3 separate regions of the Homo sapiens genome follow, and all the other regions are linked to region 2. Evidence: promoter capture Hi-C in 16 types of primary human blood cells and fetal thymus (Javierre and others, 2016). All regions are on one chromosome and are shown on one strand. The core of a region is centred on a gene start or on the middle of the fragment in contact, and the rest is flanking DNA. Distances in the headings are between cores, read along the strand shown. Region 1 overlaps TRIM6 (tripartite motif containing 6). Region 2 holds the start of FHIP1B (FHF complex subunit HOOK interacting protein 1B). Region 3 has its middle 12 kb from the start of OR2AG2.

Region 1 (3,710 bases), core at 44-2,543, 640 kb before region 2:
GACAGGGCAGTGAAAGAGATAAGGTCCTTTCCCTTTCGGAACTCATTATATCTTTATTTCTTTTTCTTTCTCACTGCAAATGACCCCACTGAGGTTAGAGACATTTTAATCAGTCAGTCAATAGAGACAGAAATGTGTGGTTAGGAGCATAGATGCCGCAGCCAGACTGCATGTGTTCAAATCCTGACTCTGACAGACACTGGCTGTGTGCCCGAAGACTGTTAACTTGACTTCTTTGAGCTTTAGTTTCTTCCATCTATAAGATGGACGGAGTAATATGTATATCTTAGAGTTTTGGTGAGGATTGAGTGAGACAGATTTAAACACGTAGGAGGCTGCCTGACACAAATTATGGTCATTATTACTGGCAAACTCCATGCCTAGCTTTAAAAAAATGCACAATCAAAACAATTTTTAAATTATAGGTTTCTGAAATGCAGGGGGTAGAAATTCTTTTGAAGTGGAAATTAAATTTTTTGTTTTGAAACTGATTATGTTCCAATTCAAATATTTATTGAGTCCTGTTAGATAATCAATTGCAGATAATAGGTTAAATATAACCCTACACAAAGATAAAAAAAAATGTTATTCCTAAAGTGCAAGAACTCATGCCCAACTCACTTATAAATGCAACTGCCACCTATTTTATTCCACTTTCACTAGGGCTCCCAGCTGGTGGACGGGCCCGCTCTGTCATTCCTAACTCTGAACCCCCAGCCTACACCAGCCCCAGTATCCCCTGCTGAGTCACTGATTTTTATTCTGAAAGCCATTTTGATATCGATGCAAGCTTCCATTCTAAAAGATGCTTCGTATCTAAATAGCAGGCCATTCTCTGTCCCCCTCCCTCTTCTAGCTGTTTTGCACCCTAAATTGTATCCACCTGGGAAAGAAGGTCCTTTATCTAAGGCAGTGCTTCTGAAGCCTTAATGTGCGTAAGAATCACCTAGAGAACTTTAATATTAAAGTGCAGATTCTGAATCATTCCAGGAAAGACTGAGATTCTGCATAAAGAACTCCAAGTGCTTGCAGTGTTGCTAGTTAGCAGACCTTTTTCAGGCGTCTGGTTCTGATTTAATTGGTCCCACCTGGTTGTGAATTTGGGCTCTTTCTTCTGCTAATTTGATGCACTGGGCTCTGGGACTGCAGGCTCTTCTCGTCTGCACTCCTCACAGTCAGAATGCCTTCTCTCAGCCCGTCCACACTGCTCTGGAGACTTGGCCTCAGTTGGAAACTGGCAGCCTCCCATATCTCCCTTGGGCTGCACTTAGCTGCAGTGGGCAGTCAGGGCTTGCTGGTGTGTGGGCAAGGGTCACCTATGCTAACTGTATGCTCCCCTCCTTCACAATTTCTTTCCCAAGCCTCAGCTTTGACAAGAGACCTCAACTCTTACAAATCTTTTTTCTGCTCAAGAATTTTTCTCTGTCTAAAGAGAGTATTAGATGAATATCTACAGCGCATATTAGATAGGAAAAAGACATATAATGAACTAGAAATAGAATGAAGCCACATATGTAATGTTACATACTCAAGTAGCCTCATTAAAAATAAGCGGGTGAAATTAATTTTAATACATTTCATTTAACCCAATACATGCAAAATACAATTAGGACATGTGATCAACATAAAAAAATTAATAAGATCCTTTAACTTTTTTAAACTAAATCTTCAAAATCCAATGTGTATTTTGTACCTAAAGCAACCCATTTCTGAGTAGCCACACTTCAAATGCTCAAGAGCCATATCTGGCTACATGTTTGACAACACAGTTCCATTATGCTTAGAAGATCAGAAACCAAGCTTTTAATTTTTCTTGTATTTTTTTGTTTCTGTCAGTTTATTGAGTTCTATCTAGTAAGTTACAAATTGTAAGCATACAGTTCTGTGAATTTTCACAGTTGCAGTCAGCTGTGTAACCACCACCATGATCATGATACATAAAGGGCATTTCCCTTTATGTATTCACCCTTCAAATTTCCTTATGCCCTTTGCAGTTCAAACTTTTCTCCCACTCCTGGGCCCTGGCTTCCACTGATGTACTTTCAAATACCATAGCTTTCTCTTTTCTAGGATTTCACATAAATAGCATCATACAATAACTTAAATTTGATGTTTGGGTTCTTTCACTTTGCATGCTTTTGAGATTTATCTTGTTGTATATATTAACAGTTTAATTGTTTGGTAATATGCCACTGTATGGATACACCACAGTTTGTTCATTTACCAGTTAGTGATGTCATGGATTCTTTTCAGTTTGGGACTATTACTACATTGCATTTATGAGGCAGTAGTTCTCCTTCAAGAGAATTGGGTACGCTAAATACAGTTTTGCCTGAAATGAAAGTGTGCATGTGTTTGTTGGGGAGGATGAATTGGAATTGGACTTTCAATTAAAATATAATACCAATACAATTATTATATTTATTTATTTATTTATTTATTTATTTATTTATTTTGAGACGGAGTCTCGCTCTGTCGCCCAGGCTGGAGTGCAGTGGCACGATCTCGACTCACTGCAAGCTCCACCTTCCGGGTTCACGCCATTCTCCTGCCTCAGCCTCCCGAGTAGCTGGGACTACAGGCATCCGCCACTACACCCAGCTAAATTTTTGTATTTTTAGTAGAGACAGGGTTTCACCGTGTTAGCCAGGATGGTCTCGATCTCCTGACCTTGTGATCCGCCTGCCTCAGCCTCCCAAAGTGCTGGGATTACAGGCTTGGGCCACCGCGCCCGGCCAACACAATTATTTTTTAACAGTAACACTTTGATAAGATAGCACATTTATTTCTATACTCTAGTGCCAACATCAAGGCCAACTATAAGCTCAGCAGTAAGCTATAATTTTCAATCCATTATAAAGTTAATTGATCATTTCCTGTGTTAGCTGCAGTGCTAAGGTCTGGGGCACCTGGAAGATAAATAGAGCCTCTATTGCCTCTAGAGCCTCTATTGCCTCTATTATCAAAGGCAATAGAGCCTTATAGTGCAGTGTGCTAAGTGAGATGATGTGGGTATGGTAGGAGATATTAACAAAGGAAATAATAGTGCAGTTCCCACAGGTGTGATTAATTTGGTTAAACAGACTCTCAGATGATAGGTAAATACGTCTGTAACACCAATTAGTACTACCAGTTAGATGCACAGAGTTCATTAATTTGTTAATTATATTTTGCACCCTTTATGGAGATGAGGAATATAAGGGAGTAATAAGAGCTCCAGCTCTGCAGCCTGCGTATCTGCATTCAACACCGGCCCCGCCACTTGAAAGATCTACTAAATACCAGTTTATACAACTATGAGATGAGATTTAAGGGACATTCATAATGTTGTTATGTGGAATTATTGAGTTATTATGTACAAAATAATTAAATTCTTGCTGAATACCTAATGGGCTTTCTGTAGATATTTGCTGTGAGCATCGCTGCTGCTAAGCATGGCAAAGCTGAAGAGCCAGGCTAGTACTTGCAGAAGCACCACAGAACACTAGATGGCAGCGCCAAGAACCTGTTTTCGGCTCGCTAGATCCCCCAGCAGGGCCGCTAGGAGGCTTATGCTTACATCCCATGACTTTTTCTTACCCTTATCTGAGACACTTTCTCAGGCCCTTTCTTCTAAGGGGAGTGTTGTTATTGGGAGGCAGTTTGATATACTTTTTAAATCCACCAGGTCCTCAAGATGGGGGTAAATTGGTACAATTTACAGGGCCTTG
Region 2 (3,497 bases), core at 998-3,497:
CTTCATCCCTATGTCACTCTCACAGTCCCTTTTCTGTCTTTTGGAAATAGAACAATTACAAATCATTAAAAAATCCTCCCACATCACCTTCAGTGTCTATTATAAATCTTCTTTCCCAAAGTCTCTCTCACTCTGAGACAAAATTCTGGGTTCAGCCTTGCCACTGTATCCCTGTATGATCTCTGGCTACTGAATTTAATTTCTCATCTATAAAATGAAAGTTCCTGTCTTTGTCTACAAGGTATCTATATAAATCAGTATAATAAAATTTGAAATCCCTATGTAAAGCATGAATGCTGTTCAGATGTTAAGTTATACAGAATCATTGTATAAATGTATGCTTCCTCAACCTAATACAACAGCCACACCATCATCACTTTAAATTTCTGAAGTTCATAAAGCTATAGAAATAATTTTTAAAATTAAAAATTGGGTTGACACTTTTTATTTGGGTAAATTAGATCTTTTTTTTTTTAACCCACCATCTACTGTTACCATTACTGCATCAACGAAAGAGCACTGCAACACCAAAAGAATAGGAATGATAATCTCTGAGAATAAATTTATCTTCATGAATAACCATACTGTCTTTCTCTCCCTCCATCTTGGATAGATGATAATTTTATCATGTACAGGGTCCTTGGTCCAGTGTTTAGGAACCACTACTCTAAACTCTGAACTGTAAGTTCTGACTGACTGGGCAAGTTGCCAAGTGTTCTACCAATATGGAGGCCTGTCTGGACTCCAGAAAGAAGCAATGAGAATATACCACAGGATATAGGAGTTGGCTCTGAAGCTAAGACTCTGGAAAAGAATGGGGACTGAGGCTGTCTAATTCTCAGGAAATGGTCTCTCCCTGTCCACTGTAGAGTTAAGGAAAGACTTAACTCTTTCTGAGTCTGGAAAGAATAGGATGTCCCAACCCCATGGCTGACTAGCAGTAGAGAGGAAAATTTAGTAGTGTGAAAGTGGCCATTATCACTGAATGCCAAACCAACTTTCCAGAATTTCACGTGCATTTGGGTTGGTGGGGAGAAGAGGACCTAAAAGAATGCTAGTAAGATGAACCCAACTACAGGGTGTGGAGAGGAAGAGATAAATTTTCAGGTGGCTAAAATGTTCAGTATCTTGAGACTGATGATGATTTCACAGATGTGTACACATGTCAAAACTCATCAAACACACATTTTAAATATAATATAAACTAGCTTTTTAAAAAATTCAACTGTAAGAAAGGAGAGTAAGGCCATCCTGTTTGGGATCCTAAATATAGTACTGTATAGGGCAAACCATATGACCTCCATAAAAGTAGAATTAGCAACTGAATATGGTCAATCCAATCAAAGACCCACAGTTAAGCACAGGTAAGGAGCAACAGTGGAATAAGGTTGTCCAGAAGCAAGTAGAGAGAAAACACAAGCTGTCACAGCGCAAAACCCTTCATGAGAGGGCCCATCTTCAACTATGCAGTCCAGAGAAGGAACTCGAAGGAACTGAAGTTTCTGTGATTACTCTGTTGAAGTCTGAGCCTCAAATATGACTTTCATTACCATAGTACTATTGCCTATGACACCTTCATTTTCTCGTCCTCCAGAATATGGAAAGTCCATGGGAGCAGAGGAGTCAGGTGCACAACACTTCCATCTAAGCTGCCCTACTTTGTCTAAAACTATTGCTCTCACTGGACAGGGCAGTCCATCGAAGGAGGCCTCAGAACCAACCTCTCACCTTTATCCAAGTCTCACAAGCCCTAATTCCCTCCTCCCATGCCTCGCCTTCAACTCCCTCACCAATTTGCCGCCACCCCGCAGGCTCCCACCTGCGCCTTTTACTCTCTCTCTCCTCGCGCAGGCCTTACCCCTCACTCTAGTCCCAGGGTATCCTTCACACCAGCCCTCAGTAGCCCCAGCCCTAGTAAACCGCGTTCAGGAGTCCCTTCAACTTGGCACCTCCGAAAGCACCCAGCCTCTCACAGCCCCTCATTTGTCCACTCACCTGTAAGCTCTCACCCTCCTTCCCTATCTTAGACACTCACACCCGGACCCTCACCACCTGCCAACCCCTCACAACCAGTACAGTAACCAAACCCGTCACCGTCTTTTCCCAGTCTCTCATCCCCACAAACGACTCTCCAGGCCCTCTGGCCCATGCGTACCGTTCACTCACGGAACGCCGAACCTGGCCGGGCCCGGTTGCTGCTGCGGTGTTAGGTGAGTTCAGGCCGCCGCCATCGCTTCTCAAGCGCACCAGCCGCGCCCCGCCCCGCGCCACACGCAGCCCGCGCCCCCGCGCACCACACGCAACCGCCCGGCGTCGCACGACTGGGCAATGGCGTGCCAGCTCATTGGCTGAGCCGGACCAAACCCGAGCAAGGACGCTTGTTTCCTGGCAACGGCTAAACGCAAGGGCGGGGTCGCCGACGGCTATCCGAGGGAGGAGCACCGCCTCTCCTCTTGGTTCCGTCCCTTCGTACGTAAACCCCGCCCCTCAGAAGGACTCCGGCGTGTCATAGGCGAAGGCCTCTGGGAAGGTGGAGGCCGGCAGGGCGGAGGCGGAGCCCGGGAAGGAAAGGTGGAACCAGAGGGCAGAAGGCGGGACCTAAGGAGAGGCGATTTTTACAGGCAGGGAAAGATCAGAAGGGCGGGGCTTGGGAGAGATGGAGCCGGAAGAAAGACGAGCGAGAAAGGGGTGGGGCCATGGATTCCAGGAGACGCTTGGAGTGGAAGAGTGGGTGTGGAGGGGCGAGGCTATCACGAAAAGAGAGGAGGAATCAGTAGGTGGGCCGGGCCTGCGGAAAAGTGGAGCCCTAGAGAGGGCTGACTGCGGGCACTCTAGTTCATTTTGCTCCATCGTCGTGCATAGCTTGGTCTCTACTTTAGTACCCCAGCGGTGACTGCCCCTGGCTCCCCCAACACCGCTGTGCTGTGCTGCTCCGTCACCCCTTGAGCACTTAGTCAAGGAACACGGAATAAGTGCCTGCATGCCCAGCTGGATTCCGGATCAATTAGAACCGGCCTCTGCTCTCCAGGACCTCAGAGAATTGCAGCGTAGTGTAATAAGTACATTACTACGGGGGCCACCTAGGAGCAGCACTTAGCATGATTTGCATGTATAGAGGATGAGAGGAAGGTACGGTGAAGGAGCTTAGGGAAGACTTCCGGGAGGTGACGGTGTCTAAGCCGAGTCTTGGGAAACAAGCAAGAGTAAGATAAACTAAAATAGAAAAATAGAAGTTTCAGATAAGGCATGTAGTTTTAAAAGTACTTTACCGGCTGGGCGCGGTGGCTCACGCCTGTAATCCCAGCACTTTGAGAGGCCGAGGCGGGCGGATCACGAGGTCAAGAGTTCGAGACCAGCCTGACCAACATAGTGAAACCCCGTCCCTACTACAAATACAAAAATTAACTGGGCGTAGTGGCGCGCGCCTGTAATCCCAGCTGCTTGGGAGGCTGGGGCAGGAGAATCGCTTGAACCCGGGAGGCGGAGGTTGCAGTTAG
Region 3 (3,515 bases), core at 364-2,863, 530 kb after region 2:
ACAACCAATTTGGTGGCTTACAACCACAGATTTATCTTAAGTTCTGGAGGTTAAAGTCCAAAATTAGGTCTTATGGGGCCGAAAACAAGGTATTGGCAGGGCTTCCTTCCTTCTAAAGGCTCTCAGTAAAATCCATTCCCTTGCCCTTCCTGCATCTAGAAACTGCCTGCATTCCTAGACTTCTGACCCCTTCCACCTTCAAAGCCAACAATGGCCATTCAAGGGTTTCGGTGCATCGTTCCAACTCTGACCCTGCTACCTCCCTCTTATAAGGACCCTTGTGATTATATTGAACCCACCTGGATAATCCGGGATAATTTTCTTGTCTCAAGATTGGTAATTTAATCACATCTACAAAGTCCTTTTTGCCATCTAAGGTACCATGTACAGGTTCTGGGGAGTAGGAATGTGAACATCTTTGGGGGACATTTATTTATCAATAGCATACTCAAAGAGAGACTAGCCCTCAGTGAGTCAAATGACTACAAAACACGTGGCTAATCTTTTTTTAATAACTTTTTTAAGCTAAAATATAACAGTTATACAAATACTAAAAAATGCTCAGAATGTATATGTACAGCTCAATGAATCTGGCACAAGGCATACACACTCCAGTAACCACTATTCAGGTCAAGTTACAGAGCATTACCAACACCCCAGTATTCTTTCCTTATGCCCTCTTCTAATCACTATACCTTCACTCACTCCCCAAAAGCAGTTTAACACCATACATCAGTTATGTTTCTTAGACAGGCAATTGAAATGATACAATATGTATGTTTTGTGCCTGCCTTCCTTCACTCAATATTACGTTTGTAAGATTTATCCATGTTACTATATGGAGCTATTGTGGTTCATTTTCTTTTCTTTCTTTTTTTTTGAGAGTCTCGCCTTGTCACCCAGGCTGTAGTTCCTCTCTGTTCCATTGGTCTATATATCTGTTTTGGTACCAGTACCATGCTGTTTTTGTTACTTTAGCCTTGTAGTATAGTTTATAGCATTGTAGTATAGATTGCAATGGCACGATCTCGGCTCACTGCAAGCTCTGCCTCCCAGGTTCAAATGATTCTCCTGCCTCAGTCTCCTGAGAGCTGGGATTACAGGCGTCTGCCACCACGCCCAGCTAATATTTGCATTTTTTCAGTAGAGACAGGTTTTACCATGTTGGCCAGGCTGATCTCGAGCTCCTGACTGTGTGATCTGCCTGCCTCAGCCTCCCAAAGTGCTGGAATTACAGGTGTGAGCCACTGCGCCTGGCCTCGTAGTTCATTTTCTTTGTTGTATAATGCATTGTATGACTAGATCACAGTTTATTTATCCTTTATGCTGATGAACAAACATGTGGGTTGTTTTCAGCTTTGGGGTATTTTAAACAGTGTTGCTATAAATAGTTTTGCACATGTCTTTTGGTGCACATATACACACATTTCTGTCAGGCATATACAACAAGTAGAATTGCTTGGTTATGGCATATACATATCTTCAACTTCAGTAGAGAATACCAACCAGTTAAAAAAATTTTTTTATTATACTTTAAGTTCTAGGGTACAGTGCAGAACGTGCAGTTTTGTTACATAGGTATATACATGCCATGGTGGTTTGCTGCACCCATCAACCCGTCACCTACCTTAGGTATTTCTCCTAATGCTATCCCTCCCCCAGTCCCCCACCCATGACAGGCCCCAGTGTGTGATACCTCCCTATGTCCATGTGTTCTCATTGTTCAACTCCCACTTATGAGTAAGAACATGCGGTGTTTGGTTTTCTGTTCTTAGTTTGCTGAGAATGATGGTTTCCAGCATCATCCATGTCCCTGCAAAGGACATCGTTTTCATGGCTGCATGGTATTCCATGGTGCATATGTGCCACATTTTCTTAATCCAGCCTATCACTGATGGGCATTTGGGTTGGTTTCAAGTCTTTGCTATTGTGAATAGTGCTGCAATAAACATACATGTGCACGTGTCTATACAGTAGAATAATTTATAATCCTTTGAGTATATACTCAGTAATGGGATTGCTGGGTCAAATGGTATTTCTGGTTCTAGATCTTTGAGGACTCATCACATTGTATTCCACAATCATTGAACTAATTTACACTCCCACCAACAGTGTAAAATTGTCCCTATTTCTCCACATCCTCTTCAGCATCTGTTGTTGCCTGGCTTTTTAATGATCACCATTCTAACTGGGGTGAGATGGTATCTCATTGTGGTTTTGATTTGCATTTCTCTAATGACCAGTGATGATGAGCTTTTTTTCCTACGTTTGTTGGCTGCATAAATGTCTTCTTTTGAGAAGTGTCTGTTCATATCCTTCATCCACTTTTTGATGGGGTTGTTTTTTTTCTTGTAAATTTGTTTAAGTTCTTTGTAGATTCTGTATATTAGCCCTTTGTCAGATGGATAGATTGCAAAAATTTTCTCCTATTCTGTAGGTTGCATGTTCACTCTGATGATAGTTTCTTTTGCTGTGCAGTAACTCTTTAGTTTAATTAGATCCCATTTGTCAATTTTGGCTTTTGTTGCCATTGCTTTTTGTGTTTTAGTCATGAAGTCTTTGCCCATGCCTATGTCCCGAATGGTATTGCCTAGGTTTTCTTCTAGGGTTTTTATGGTTTTAGGTCTAACATTTAAGTCTTTAATCCATCTTGAATTAATTTTTGTATAAAGTGTAAGGAAGGGGTCCAGTTTCAGTTGTCCGCATATGGCTAGTTTTCCCAACACCTTTTATTAAACAGGGAATCCTTTCCCCATTACTTGTTTTTGTCAGATTTGTCAAAGATCAGATGGTTGTAGACATGTGGTGTTATTTCTGAGGCCTCTCTGTTCCATTGGTCTAGATATCTGTTTTGGTACCAGTACCATGCTGTTTTTGTTACTTTAGCCTTGCAGTATAGTTTAAAGTCAGGTAGCATGATGCCTCCAGCTTTGTTCTTTTTGTTTAGGATTTTCTTGGCCATGCGGCCTCTTTTTTGGTTCCATATGAAATTTAAAGTAGTTTTTTCCAGTTCTGTGAACAAAGTTAATGAGAGCTTGATGGAGATAGCATTGAATCTATAAATTACTTTGGGCATGTGTGAGGAAGGTACTTGTTCTAGCACTCACCAAATTCCAGATAAGAGACACGAAGTTCTCCAGTAGTACTTTTCAATCTCTCATCAACAAACTTAAGATTAGTTCCTTCTTTCCTTATGGAGGGAGGGGTAAAAGAATACTCTGAGAGATAACTTCAAATATTCCTCTCCACCAACCTCCAACTGTCTCTCTCTTTCATACCCTAAAAAAGTTGAAGGCTTAACGCTTGTATGCCATCTCTTGATCACCTCCATGTACGTCCTCCCTAATGGTGTAGCACCTCAGTTTAGAATGTGGAGGTACATGGCAAATATTGTTTTATTTTTAGATTTCAGGTAATATTTCTATGGTATGACATTAGTATAGAGACAATAATCTAACTGAACTTTTGGGAAGTTGAGTCAAGGAGTGTAAGCTTAAAATAATGTACCATAATAT

The links. Contacts are between HindIII fragments. The CHiCAGO score rates a contact against its expected background, and 5 or more counts as called.
Region 1: a fragment that was not itself captured here is called in contact with the fragment with the promoter of FHIP1B in region 2 in 1 of 17 cell types (neutrophils); the score reaches 5.3 in neutrophils.
Region 3: a contact is called between a fragment that was not itself captured here and the fragment with the promoter of FHIP1B in region 2, in 2 of 17 cell types (activated CD4 T cells and naive CD8 T cells). The highest score is 6.6, in activated CD4 T cells.

The regions. Positions count from the first base shown.
Region 1 is chr11:5,596,966-5,600,675 of GRCh38, forward strand. The region is part of intron 1 of TRIM6 (tripartite motif containing 6); the gene reads left to right. The region is part of intron 1 of TRIM6-TRIM34 (TRIM6-TRIM34 readthrough); the gene reads left to right. It also overlaps a transcript of TRIM5 not described here. Among named protein-coding and RNA genes, the nearest start is that of TRIM6-TRIM34, 2.2 kb to the left of the region's middle. RefSeq lists enhancers at 1-360, 3,394-3,688. The HindIII fragment of the contact is 1,010 bases long and covers 789-1,798 here.
Region 2 is chr11:6,232,389-6,235,885 of GRCh38, forward strand. FHIP1B (FHF complex subunit HOOK interacting protein 1B) reads right to left here and starts at 2,248. Exons shown (of 12, transcript NM_001098794.2): 1 at 2,156-2,248. It also overlaps a transcript of CNGA4 not described here. RefSeq lists silencers at 1,923-1,972, 2,153-2,452 and enhancers at 2,495-3,185, 2,583-2,662. The HindIII fragment of the contact is 4,704 bases long and covers 1-3,497 here.
Region 3 is chr11:6,758,470-6,761,984 of GRCh38, forward strand. No RefSeq gene overlaps it. Among named protein-coding and RNA genes, the nearest start is that of OR2AG2, 12 kb to the right of the region's middle. The HindIII fragment of the contact is 3,754 bases long and covers 1-3,490 here.